Regions from separate parts of the Homo sapiens genome. Here regions 1 and 2 are each linked to region 3. Evidence: promoter capture Hi-C in 16 types of primary human blood cells and fetal thymus (Javierre and others, 2016). All regions are on one chromosome and are shown on one strand. The core of a region is centred on a gene start or on the middle of the fragment in contact, and the rest is flanking DNA. Distances in the headings are between cores, read along the strand shown.

Region 1 (4,463 bases), core at 1,078-3,577, 130 kb before region 3:
GCTAGTCTCAAACTCCTGACTTCAGGTGATCCACCCACCTCGGCCTCCCAAAGTGCTGGGATTACAGGTGGGAGTCACCGCACCTGGCCCAATTTTTGTATTTTCAGTAAAGACCGGGTTTCACTATGTTGGCCAGGCTGGTCTAAACTCTTGGCCTCAAGTGATCTGCCCACCTTGGCATCCCCAAGTGAGCCACTGTGCCTGGCCTCAGCCTGCAAAAATTTTATTGAGAATTTTTCCATCTGTGTTCAGTATAAGCCTGTAAGTTTCTTTTCTTTTAGTGTTCTTATCTAACTTTGATGCAAGGGTAATACTGGCCTTGTAAAAAGAGTTTGGAAATGTTCCTCCCTCTTGATTTTTTTTTTTAGAAAAGTTTTAGAAGAATTGGTGTTTATTCTTCTCTGTTTGGTGGAATCCACCTAATCTTTTGTATTTTTGTGGTATCAGTTGTAACTATTCTTTTGTCATTTCTGATTGTAATTTTTTGAGTCATCTTTCTTTTTTTCTTGGTTAGTTTACTAAAGGTTTGTCAATTTTGTTTATCTTTTTAAAAAATCAACTCTTAGTTTCTTTGATCTTTTAAATTGTCTTTCTGTTCTCTATTTCATTTACTTCTGCTCTAATTTTTGTTATTTTTCTCCCTTCTGCTAACTTTGGGCTTAGTTTGTCTTTTTTTTTTTTTGAGACAGAGTCTCACTCTGTTGCACAGGCTAGAGTAAAGTCGCACAGTCTCAGCTCACTGCAGCCTCTGCCTCCTGGCTTCAAGGAATTCTCCTGCCTCAGCCTCCTGAGGGTGCCTGCCACCAGGCCTGGCTAATTTTTGTATTTTTAGTAGGGATGGGGTTTCACCATGTTGGCCATGAACTCCTGACCTCAAGTGATCTGCCCACCTCGACCTCCCAAACTGCTGGGGTTACAGGCATGAGCCACTGCACCTGGCTGTGAGATCTTTCTTTTTAAAATTTAGGTATTTATCTCTATAAATTCCTCTGTTAGAACTGCTTTTGTTGCATCCCATGTTTGGTATGTTATGTTTCTATTTCTGTTGGTTTGAAGACAGTTTTTTAAATCTTCTTTGACCCACTGGTTGTTCAAGAGCATGTTGTTTAATTTCTATTAATACTATTTGTGAATTTTCCAATTTTCCTTGTTATTAATTTATAGTTCTATATTATTGATTTCAGGAAAGATACTTGATGTGATTTCAATCTTCTTTAATTTGTTAAGACTTGTGCTATGGCCTAATATATGATCTATCCTAGAGAATATTCCATTGCTCTTGAGAAAAATGTGAAATCTGCTGCTGTTGAGTGGAATGTTCCATGTGTGTCTGTTAGGTCCATTTGGTTTATAGCATTATTCAAGTCTACTGTTTCCTTATTGATTTTTTGTCTGAATGATCTATCCATTGTTGAAAGTGGCATATGGCCAGGCATGGTGGCTCATGCCTGTAATCCCAGCACTTTGAGAGGCCGAGGCAAGCAGATCACCTGAGGTCAGGAATTTGAGACCAGCCTGGCCAACATGGTGAAACCCTGTCTCTACTAAAAATACCAAAATTAGCTGGGCATGGTGGCACAATTCTGTAATCCCAGCTACTTGGGAGGCTGAGGCATGAGAATTGCTTGAATTCGGGAGGCCGAGGTTACAGTGAGCTGAGATCACACCACTGCACTCCAGCCTGGGTGACAGAGCAAGACTCTGTCTCAAAATAAAAAATTAAAAAAAAAAAACAAAAAACAGTGGCATACTGAATTCTCCTATTATTGTATTGCTATCTATTTCTCTCTTTAGTCTTGTTAATATTTCCTTTATGTGTTTAGGTTCTCTGACATTGGGTGCATATATATTTATAATTTTTATATTCTCTTGATGAATTGACTCCTTTATCATTGTTTAATGACCTTCTTGGTTTCTTGTGACAGATTTTGACTGAAAGTCTATTTTGGCTGATATAAGTATAGCCACTTCTGCTCTCTTTTGGTTACTATTTGCAAAGGATATATTTTCCCATCCATTCACTTTTAGCCTATGTAGGCTAAAGTGAGTCTATTGTAGTCAGTATATTATTGGTCTTGTTTTATTTTTTAATTTTTTTTTTTATTTTTTGAGATGGAGTTTTGCTCTTGTTGCCCAGGCTGGAGTACAATGGCATGATCTCGGCTCACTGCAACCTCCGCTTCCCGGGTTCAAGCCATTCTCCTGCCTCAGTCTCCTGAGTAGCTGGGATTACAGGCATGTGCCACCACGCCCAGCTAATTTTGTATTTTTAGTAGAGATGGGGTTTCTCCATGTTGGTCAGGCTGGTCTCAAACTCCTGACATCAGGTGATCCGCCTGCCTTGGCCTACCAAAGTGCTGGGATTACAGCCATGAGCCATCATACCTGGCCTCGTTTTATTTTTAAAATCTATTCAACCACTCTGTGTCTTTTGATTGGAGAATTTAAACCTTTATATTTAAAGTAATTCTTGATAGGTAAAGACTTACTATTGCCATTTGTTAATTGTTTTCTGACAGCTTTGTAATTCCTTTGTTCTTTTCTTTCTCTCTTATTGTCTTTCTTTGTGATTTAATTTTTTGGTAGTGCTATGCTTTGATTATGTACCCTTTTATCCATTATATATCTGCTAGATTTTTTTTTCTTTTTGGTTGCCATGAGGATTACATAAAATATTTTATAGTTATAATGGTCTATTTTAACCTGATAACAAATTAACTTCAATTACATACAAATACTTTACATTTTTACTTCTCTTCCACCTTGCATTTTATGCTACTGATGTCACACTTAACATCATTTTATTGCGTCTATTAACAAATTATTGTAGCTATAGTTATTTTAAACATTTTTGTCTTTTTTTTTTTTTTTTCTGAGTCAGAGTTTCACTCTTGTTGCCCAGGCTGGAGTGTAATGGTGCAATCTTGGCTCACTACAACCTCTGCCTCCCAAGTTCAAGTGATTCTCATGCCCTGGCCTCCTGAGTAGCTGGGATTACAGGCGTGTGCTGCCACCCCTGGCTAATTTTTTGTATTTTTAGTAGAGATGAGGTTTCACCATGTTGGCCATGCTAGTCTTGAACTCCTGACCTCAGGTGATCTGCCTGCCTCGGCCTCCCAAAATGCTGAGATTACAGGCGTGAGCCACCGTACCTGGCCATATTTTTGTTTTTTAACTTTTATACTAGAAGTAAAAATGATTTACCTACTGCTATTATAGTATTAGAGCATTCTGAACTTGACTATGTATTTACCTTTACCAGTGACTTTTGTGCTTTCATATATTTTTATGTTGCTACTTAGCATCCTTTTGTTTCAACTTGCAGAACTCCCTTTAGCATTTTTTGTAAGGCAGTTTTAGTGGTGAGCTTTGTTACATTTTGTCTGGGAATGTCTTTATCTCTTCTTTATTTCTGAAGGATGGCTTTTCTGGCTTTAGTATTTTGGTTGGCATGCTTTTTTTTTTTTAATTTTGTTTTTGTTTTTTAAGCACTTTGAATATATCTGCTGAGAAATCTCTGATAGCCTAATTGATTTCCCTTGTATGTGAAGAGTTTCTCTTGCTGCTTTCAAAATTTTCTCTGTGTTTGATTTTTGATGATTTGACCATATGTCTTGGAATAGTCTTCTTTGGATTGATCTTGGGAATTTTGAGATTTTATGAGTCTTGATGTCCACTTCCCTCCCAAGATTTGGGAACTTTTCAGCCACTATTGTTTTAAATAAGATTTCTACCTCTTTCTCTTTTTCTCTTCTTCTGGGACTTCCATAATGCACACATTTATTCAATGGTGTCCCATGGGTCTTGTATTCTTTTGTCACTTCTTAAATTCTTTTTTCCTTTTCATTCCTCTAATTGGCTCTGGTCCCATGTGTCTCCTCAAGGGTCTACAGTTGGATCCTCAGATAAAGGGCCTGTTACCAGGTGAATGAATGGGTGTGGCTCCCTCCAGGTCTCTGGTAGGACTCCTACTAGGTCACTGGATGGGTCCCTGGACAGGCGGTGATGACTCCAAATGTTAGCTGAGAGGGGCTGGAACTGAGTCACATGGCTGTTTCAGGATCCACAGCTGTGATGGAGGTCTAACTGGGGACTTGACAAGAGAAAGTCTTTATCTGCTTAAACCAGTGTGTAAAGACTGGCAGAAGTGACTGCACCTTCAAATGCACAGACATGAATGCAAGGCTACATGAATCATGAAGAAACAGGCAAACATGACACCATCAAAGGAAACTAATAAAGACCTAATAACTAGCTCCAAAAGCAGGCTAGAGCTGGGTCACAGGGCTGCTTCAGGACCTGCAGTTGGATTGAAGTCAGTGGGGCTGCCTCCAGGGGGACTGCCCTGCCAAAGACAGCTCCTGAACCATGGCTGAGAGGGGCTGAAGCCGGGTCATGGACTGCTTTAGGGTCCATAGCCAGGACCCAGGTCAGCCAGCCTATTATCCAAAGCATGGGCAGGG
Region 2 (4,137 bases), core at 1,044-3,543, 160 kb before region 3:
AGAAATAATTCAGTTAAGAAAACAGAAACTAATGGGAAAAATACATTAGATAAAATCAACAAAGTCAAAGTTTTCTGAAAAGATGAGTAAAATGGACAGAATTCTGGTAGCTTATCAAGAAAAAGAAAAGAGAACATCAATAAACAATACTGGGAATGAAAAAGGGGCCATGTTGTAGATATTGCAGACACTAAAAGGTGAGAGAATACCCTGAACAATGAACATGCCAAGAGATTTGAAAACTTCAGTAAAATGGAAACATTTCTTGGAGAGTATAACTTAAAACTTCCTCAAGAAGATACAAGAAAACTAAGTCTACAATTTTAAAAAATAAATACTTAGAAATCTTCCAACTAAACCAAACCAAAGCAAACATGCCATCACCACTACCTCCACCAGCTTTGCTGCCATTTCTACCATACATTCAAGGAACACATCATTTCAATATTTAAAAACTTATTCTAGGCTTGGCATGGTGGCTCACACCTGTAATACCAGCACTTTGGGAGGCCAAGGTGGGCGGATCACAAGGTCAGGAGTTGGAGACCAGTCTGGCCAATGTGGTGAAACTCCGTCTGTACTAAAAAATGCAAAAATTAGCTGGGCATGGTGACGCATGCCTGTAATCCCAGCTACTTGTGAGGCCGAGGCAGGAGAATTGCTGGAACCCAGGAGGTGGAGGTTGCAGTGAGCCAACATCATGCCAATGCACTCCAGCTTGGGCGACAGAGCGAGACTCCTTTAAAACAAAAACAAAAACAAAACTTATTCTAGGTTACAGCAAAGGAGAGAATAATTTATGATGTTTGGCTAACATAACCTTGGAATCAAAACTAGTAAGGACAGAACAAGAAACAAAAAGCTCAGTCTCAATTATGAACACAGTGGCAAAAATATAATACTAAACAAATTATTCATAACTGACTCCAGCAGGTTGAATTTATCCCTGAAATATAAGATACCTTAACATTAGAAAATTGATTAATATAATTCACCACATCAACAGAAAAAATGAGAATAATCTCATGATTATTCTAAAAATAAAGAAAAAGATTTGGATAAAATTCAATGTTCATCCATGATCATAATTTCAGCAAGTCAAGAAAAGACAGGCTATGTTATCATTTAGAGAAACATGTGAAGTATTTTATTTCTCCTCACATCAAGAGGTTCACTCTATTTCTGTTCCCCTTGAAAGTGAGCTTTCCTAGTGATTTGCTTTGACCAACAGAATACAATGGAAGTTACCTGTGTGATTTCTGAGTCTAGGCTTTGAGAGTTCTGTGGCTTCAATTCTACTTAGAAGCCCTAAACTGGCCAGGTGCAGTGGCTCACGCCTGTAATCCCAACACTTTGGGAGGCCAAGGCAGGTGGATCACTTGAGGTCAGAAGTTCGAGACCAGCCTGGCCAACATGGTGAAACTCCATCTCTACTAAAAAATACAAAAATTAGCCAGGTGTGGTGGTGGGCACCTGTAATCCCAGCTGCTCGGGAGGCTGAGGCAGGAGCATCGCTTGAACTTGGGAGGTGGAGGCTGCAGTGAGCCAAAATCATGCCATTGCATTCCAGCCTGGGTGACAGAGCAAGACCTCACCTCAAAAAAAAAAAAAAAAAAAAAGCATAAAAAATAAAGGTCATGACATCCTCATCTCAGACTCCTAGCCTGCAGAACTGTGAGGAATAAATGTCTATTGTTTAAGCCAAAAAAAAAAGCTTACAAATAAATGTAACAAGAGAAGTGTGTAATATATATCAAAAATTGTCTTTAAGTTTATTGAAATAATTAAAGATGGCCTATAAAAATGGAAAGACATACTATTTTATGTTTTAGAAGTCCCAATTTCATAAGCATGTAAGTTCTACCCAAATTATTCTAAAAATTCAATGTAATTTCAATCAAAATGACAACACAGGGTTTTTTTTTTTTTGTTTTGGAATTTAATAAGCTAATTTAAAAATATATATACAGGAACTAGTGGCCAAGAATAGTCTGAAGAAAAACATAGTTGGAGGTAGGGCAGGGTAACTGCCTTATAAGATAGCAAGACTTATTATGAAGCCGAAGTAATTAGGAGTGTGGTGTTAGTTTGGGAATAGAAAAATTGGCCAATAAAATAGAATAAAGAACCTATAAACAGATCCACATAGATGTGAAAAACTGAATTATGTCAGCACTGTCAGTGCAGGTCATGGGAAATCAATAAGTGGTACTGGGACAATTGTTTACCCATAAGGGAATAATTAATTTGGACCTCTACCTCATACCGTACCCCACCCCCCTAATCAATTCCAGGTGGATTATATACTTAAAAGTAAAAGGCAAAACTATACAACTTATAGAAAATAATATAGGATAGGCTAGGCGCAGTGGCTCACACCTTTAATCCCATCACTTTGGGAGGCTGAGGTGGATGGATCACTTGAGGTCGGGAGTTCAAAACCAGCCTGGCTAACATGGCGAAAAGTCATCTCTACTTAAAATACAAAAATCAGCCGGGAGTGGTGGCGAACGCCTGTAATCCCAGCTACTCGGGAGGCTGAGACAGGAGAATCGCTTGAACCCAGGAGACGGAGGTTGCAGGGAGCCGAGATCATGCCATTGCACTCCAGCCTGGGTGACAGAGTGAGACTCTGTCTCAAAAAATAAATAAATACATAAATACGTAATGTCTTCACAATCTCAGTGTAGGGAAGAATTTCTTGAACCAGACTTTAAAATCACAAACTCAAAAGAAAAAATTAATATTTTTAATTATATATATATTTGAAACCCTGGTCATTAAAGACGAGCCACAAACTTGGAGAACAAATCTGTAAAACATAACAGCAAATAATTTATAATCAGAATGTAAACAACTCTTACAAAGCTTGATATAAAAAAGGGAAAAACATTAGAATAGGAACTTCACAGAAGGAACCTGAATGCTCAGTAAAAACATGAAAAGATGCTTAACTTTATTAGTAATCAGGAAGATGAAAGTTAAGATTACAATGTGACACTGCTATGAAACCAGTTTGACTAAAACTAAAAACATAATAATACCAAGTGTTGACAAGTATATTGAGCAACAGAAAGAAACTCTCATAAACAACCAATAAGCATGCAAATTGGGACAATAATTTTAGAAAACTATTAGTGTTATCTAATAAGGTTGAAGAGGCATGTATCTTATAACCTAGCAATTCCACTGCTAGATAAATATTAATGCCTTAGAGAAACTTACACATGTGTACTAGGAGACACACACAAGAAAGATCAGAGTGGTATGATTTGCAAAAGCCAAAACCAAGAAACAACCTAAGTATTTATCAATAGTAAAATGGATAAATCAACAGTGGTATATTTCATACAACAAAATACCATACAGTGGTGAAAATCAATGAATTACAAATATATGCATGAATCTGAGGAATATAATTTTGGTAAAAGAGCAAGTCACAGATGAATACCCACTGCATGATCTCATTTGTAGAAAGTTCAAATACATGCAAAAGTAAACAATGTAGTGTTTAGGGATAAAAACTATAAAGGAAAGTAAAGGAATGTTATTTACAAAATTTAGGACAGTCCTTGTCTCTGTGGGAGAAAGGAAGAGGAAGTATAGGAAGGGGTTCACAGGTTAAATTTGATTTTTTAAACTTGAAGGTTGAAGGTTAGGTGAAGGATAACTCTATCTTATCTGTCAATCTATCTATCATTTTTGTTTTTTGAGATGGAGTCTGGCTCTGTCGCCCAGGCTGGAGTGCAGTGGCTCACAATCTCAGCTCACTGCAACCTCCGCCTCCTGGATTCAAGCGATTCTCCTGCCTCAGCCTCCCAAGTAGCCGGGATTACAGGCATGCGTCACCATGCCCGGCTAATTTTTGTATTTTTAGTGAAGACAGGGTTTCACCATGTTGGCCAGGCTTGTCTTGAATTCCTGACCTTAGGTGATCCGTCTGCCTTGCCTTCCAAAGTGTTAATATTACAGCCGTGAGCCACTGCGCCCAGCCCAATCTACCAATCTATCTATCTTATCTATCTACTCTATCTATCTAATCTATCTATCTATCTATCTATCATCTATCATCTATCTATCATCTATCTATCTATCTATCATCTATCTATCATCTATCTATCATCTATCTATCATCTA
Region 3 (4,224 bases), core at 202-2,701:
CACACCTGTAATCCCAGCACTCTGGGAGGCCAAGGCGGGCAGATCAGGAGCTTGAGACCAGCCTGCCCAACGTGAGAAACCCTGTCTCTACTAAGAATAAAAAATTTAGCCAGGCATGGTGGTGGCACGCCTGTTAATCCCCGCTACTTGGGAGATTGAGGCAGGAGAATCGCTTGAACCTGGGAAGCAGAGGTTGCAGTGAGTCGAGATGGCGCCACTGCACTCCAGCCTGGGCCACAGAGCGAGACTCCGTCTCAAACAAACAAACGACAACAACAAAATGCAAACTCTGGCCAGGCGCGGTGGCTCATGCCTGTAATCCCAGCACGTTGGGAGGCCAAGGTGGGCGTATCACTTGAGGTCAGGAGTTCAAGACCAGCCTGGCGAACATGGTGAAACCCCATCTCTACTAAAAATACAAAAATTAGCCAGGTGTGGTGTCATGCACCTGTAGTCCCAGCTACTCAGAAGGCTGAGGCAGGATAATCGCTTGAACCTGGAAGACAGGTTGCGGTGAGCACAGATCGCGCCACTGCACCCCAACCTGAGCGACAGAACAAGACTTCATAAAAAAAAAAAAAACCCCACGCAGATTGCAGATTCCTGGGCCCCATCTTCGCCTTTCTGAATTGCAGCCTTTCACCCTTTAAGAATGAGAGGGTGAAATCTGCACGTCATACAAATAGCCCAGGGGCTATTAATCTGATGTTGCTCCCCAGCTCCCTCCAACACCGTCAGAGGGTGCACGGATTAGGCCTCTGCTGCGTGCAGAGAAGCATCCTAGGTGCTGCGTGGCTGTGCCAAAGCAGCAGAAACCGGTGGTGTGCCTTAAGATGCATGCTCCAAAGCTGTCCACAAGGCCTCTGGTACAGGCTTCCAGGTCTACGTCTCGGCTTCCCCGACAGTGTCCATGCGACACTGTCACCAGTTTCTCCTCTCACAAGCAGAAAATCAAATTCGGATTGGGCAAATGATTCCCTGCCCGGGTGTGGAATAAGGGTCAAGTCCTAAGTATGGAGAGAGAGCGCCGGCTCCCGCCAGGATATGCGAAGCTCTGGAGGGGAGGCCAAGCCACCAGGCACCCGGCGGGAGAAGAGGAGGCTGGAGAGCGCCGCCCAGTGCCTGCAGGCCGGGCGCTCCACGCCTCCCCTCCCTCCTGCACACCCCATTCCCCTCCGGTTGCCCCGCCTGGGAAGCCCCCTCCCCACACCTCCCGGCCCAGCATCTGCACGAGAGCCGCGAGCCCTGGCCCAGAGCTCTGGGTGGGCCTCTCACCCCAGACGGCGGCCGCAGCCCGTCCCTGATCACCGGCCGCCTGAGCCCTCCGTTCGCTCGGCGCGAGCGCCGCCACCCGTCCTTACCCCCATCCAGTCCGAGGCCAGCCCCGTAGGCTCCGAGCCTGCTCCGTGAAAAGCCTTTTCCCCAGGAGGAGAGTTACTGTAAAGCAAGAGGAAGCCGAGAAGAGGCGGTGGCTGCAGCGCGCGGGGCCCGGCGGGGGCGCGGGGGCGTCGGGGTACTGACTGGGCAGCGCGGTTTCCCCTCATCCCGGGACACGGTGCGGCGCTAGCGCCACCCAGCGGGCGCGGTGGGAATTGCGCTCCCTTCCTGCGCTGGGGCTCTGGACACACAGGCGACCAAGAATGACGCCTGCAGCCGGATAAACGCTCGGGGCAAGGCCGCTATCATCCCTCTGCCGGGAGTGAGTCAAGTCTCAGCAAAAGAAGAAGCCACTTTGGCCAAAATTCCAAGAGTGCTGATGAAGACGGTGACATCTGACATTTCAATGGCACTTTCCATTTCCCCCGGGGTGCGCATTCCGGGCCAGTGGAGCGCTGCGTCGCCTGTGCAGGACCTGGAGGTCTGCAGGACTGTGACCAGTCGGAGTCTCGGAGTCGTGGGTTAAACATTAGTCGGGAGCACTCGTTCATTCCCTGAGCTCCCCTTGCCCTTCACCCTTCGGTCCCGGAAGCCGGAAGGGAGACTGCCCCGCCCCTTGCCTGCCGCCCAGTGGCTCTCCCGGGGCCCTCTTGGCCCCTCTCTCCCAGCCCTCCATACAGTGAAGGGTTGTTTCCGCTGGTGACTTCCACCTGTGGGAGCAGAGAAAGGAAGCGGGGCAGAGGAGAAGGGGAAGGTGTCAGGCGATTCCCCTCCTTGCGCTGCAAGCCGGGTGGGAATAGAACACCTGCAGCCCTCCCCGGCGCCCTGCGAATGAGGTGGGAGTGGGAACGCCATCAGGGCAGAGCCCCTCCAGCTGGCTGGGGTCTGCACCTCCTCGCCAGCCCGGCCACCTCAAAACGGTGCTTGCCTCCCTGCGGGGGTGTAGAAGCCTCTTGGAGCAGCACTTGTAGAAAATCAAGTCCCTGGAAAGAAGCAAAATTAATCCGTTTGTTTCTCTATTTATTTTTGCTTCCCCACACCAGGTATTCACTTCATCCAAGGCTGCCCAATGTCACCTTCCACCCAGAGGAATCTCCCCTCTCCACCCCAGGCCAACAGCCTCTGCCTTCAGCTGTGGCCTCCACTCTGGCATTACTCTGGGCAGAGGGCTCAGGAGGGCTCAAGGAGGACCAGTGACATTCAGAGTGGCCAGAGTAAAGGGAGGGAGGGGGAGTGGTGGGAGAGGCGTGCAGAAGGCACAGGTGAGGTGGCGGAGGGGGGCAGGTGGTGGGGGGAGCGGGCTGGGGTGGGATGGGCCTGTCAGCATAGCAAGGGCTGTGATGGGCTTGAGTCTGACAGGGGGCAATGACCTGACCTACGGTTTTGTAAGATCACTCTGGCTGCCACCTGGAGAGCTGGTGTGGGGATGATGGCCATGGTAGACACAAGGGGAGCAGTTAGGAGACCACCACAAGTGACCATGCGGCCCAGGCGAGTAGGGTAGCAACAGAGATGGGGAGAGGAGGTCAGATTTGTGATCTGTATCTGAAGGTGGAATGGACAGGAATTGCTGATGAGCTTGGGTGTGGTGCATGAGGGAAAGAGAGAAATAAGCATCATTCTTAGGATTTGTCCTGAGCAACTGGAAGAAAAAGAATGACAGTGGCTAATACGGTTAGCCAGGCGCTCCTCTAAACCCTTCACATAGTTTAACCTGTCTAGATTTCATAACACTCCTATGAATTAGGAATTAGTTCTTCCCACATTTTACAGAAGAGGCAATCGAGGCCCAGAGAGTTGAATCAGTTTGCATAAAGTCCCACCATTAGCAAATGGAAAAGCTGGAATTTGGACCCAGCACTTCACCACTGCACACTTCCCCGGCTTTACAGAAAGAGAAATGCCGTGAACTGAGCTAGATGAGCCCGGGGGAGGAATGGGGTTTTTCCGTGGGGGTGTGAATCAAGAGTTCTAGTTGGAATGAATTCAGGCTGAGGTGCCTTTTAAACATCCAAGTAGAGATATTTAGCTCAGCAGATGGATGTATGACTCAGGCCCTGGGTGGCAAGGAGGAGCATCTGGGGCTGGCGTGTTAAGCATGGAGAGGAGACAGGAGAAGAGGGCAGAAGGCTGGGAAGTGGGATTAAATGCTGCATGTGAACGGATGAGGACAGAAATGGATACTTTAGAGCATCCTGTCAAGCCTTGGGGTGTCGGGTGATGAGTGTGTTTAGGAAATATTATTCTAGAGCAGTGCTTGTTTTTGTTTGAGGATTCAATAAAGGCTGTCACCTTGTTCCAGAAAAAGTACATGAACACACACGCAACATTTTGCATACAATTTCAGGGTGTCCGTGGGTCCCCAGAGGACATGCATGGGCCATTCTATTTCTATCAAACCTTACTTCATCCACCAGCCACAATCAAATTTCACTGTATCTCTCAAGTCCTGACCAGACCTCTGATGCAGTCACCCCACCCTCTCTGTCTGCATGAGATAGGAGCTGCACTCCTCTGAATCGAGACGGTTTTGAATTGAGACGGTTTTGAATGTCTATGTAGAATGCAGCTCGCCCTGCAGGTATTGCCTGTGTACATGTCTCATTTGGAAATGGTTCCCCTGAGGAATGAGAGGATGAACCCACAGAGTCTTTTGCTCTCTTATTCACCTGGGAGGTGATGTTATTCATCTATTTCCTAGATTTATTTGTTTTTTTGGTGTTTTTTGTTTTTGTTTTCGTTTTGAGATGGACTCTTTCTCTGTCGCCCAGGCTGGAATGCAATGGCGTGATCTCAACTCACTGCAACCTCTGCCTCCCGGGTTCAAGCGATTCTCCTGCCTCAGCC

The links. The method cuts DNA at HindIII sites, captures the fragments that hold promoters and counts their contacts. A CHiCAGO score of 5 or more calls a contact.
Region 1: a fragment that was not itself captured here is called in contact with the fragment with the promoter of C1orf220 in region 3 in 2 of 17 cell types (total B cells and naive B cells); the score reaches 9.8 in total B cells.
Region 2: a fragment that was not itself captured here is called in contact with the fragment with the promoter of C1orf220 in region 3 in 3 of 17 cell types (total B cells, naive B cells and endothelial precursors); the score reaches 22.5 in total B cells.

The regions. Positions count from the first base shown.
Region 1 is chr1:178,671,724-178,676,186 of GRCh38, reverse strand. No RefSeq gene overlaps it. Among named protein-coding and RNA genes, the nearest start is that of MIR4424, 3.8 kb to the left of the region's middle. The HindIII fragment of the contact is 9,920 bases long and covers 1-4,463 here.
Region 2 is chr1:178,696,260-178,700,396 of GRCh38, reverse strand. No RefSeq gene overlaps it. Among named protein-coding and RNA genes, the nearest start is that of MIR4424, 21 kb to the right of the region's middle. The HindIII fragment of the contact is 1,154 bases long and covers 1,717-2,870 here.
Region 3 is chr1:178,540,023-178,544,246 of GRCh38, reverse strand. It overlaps C1orf220 (chromosome 1 putative open reading frame 220), which reads right to left and starts at 1,451. Exons shown (of 3, transcript NR_033186.1): 1 at 1,362-1,451. It overlaps LOC124904460 (a long non-coding RNA gene), which reads left to right and starts at 1,602. Exons shown (of 2, transcript XR_007066748.1): 1 at 1,602-2,213; 2 at 2,421-3,684. RefSeq lists silencers at 1,217-1,286, 1,317-1,646 and an enhancer at 1,697-1,756. The HindIII fragment of the contact is 17,585 bases long and covers 1-4,224 here.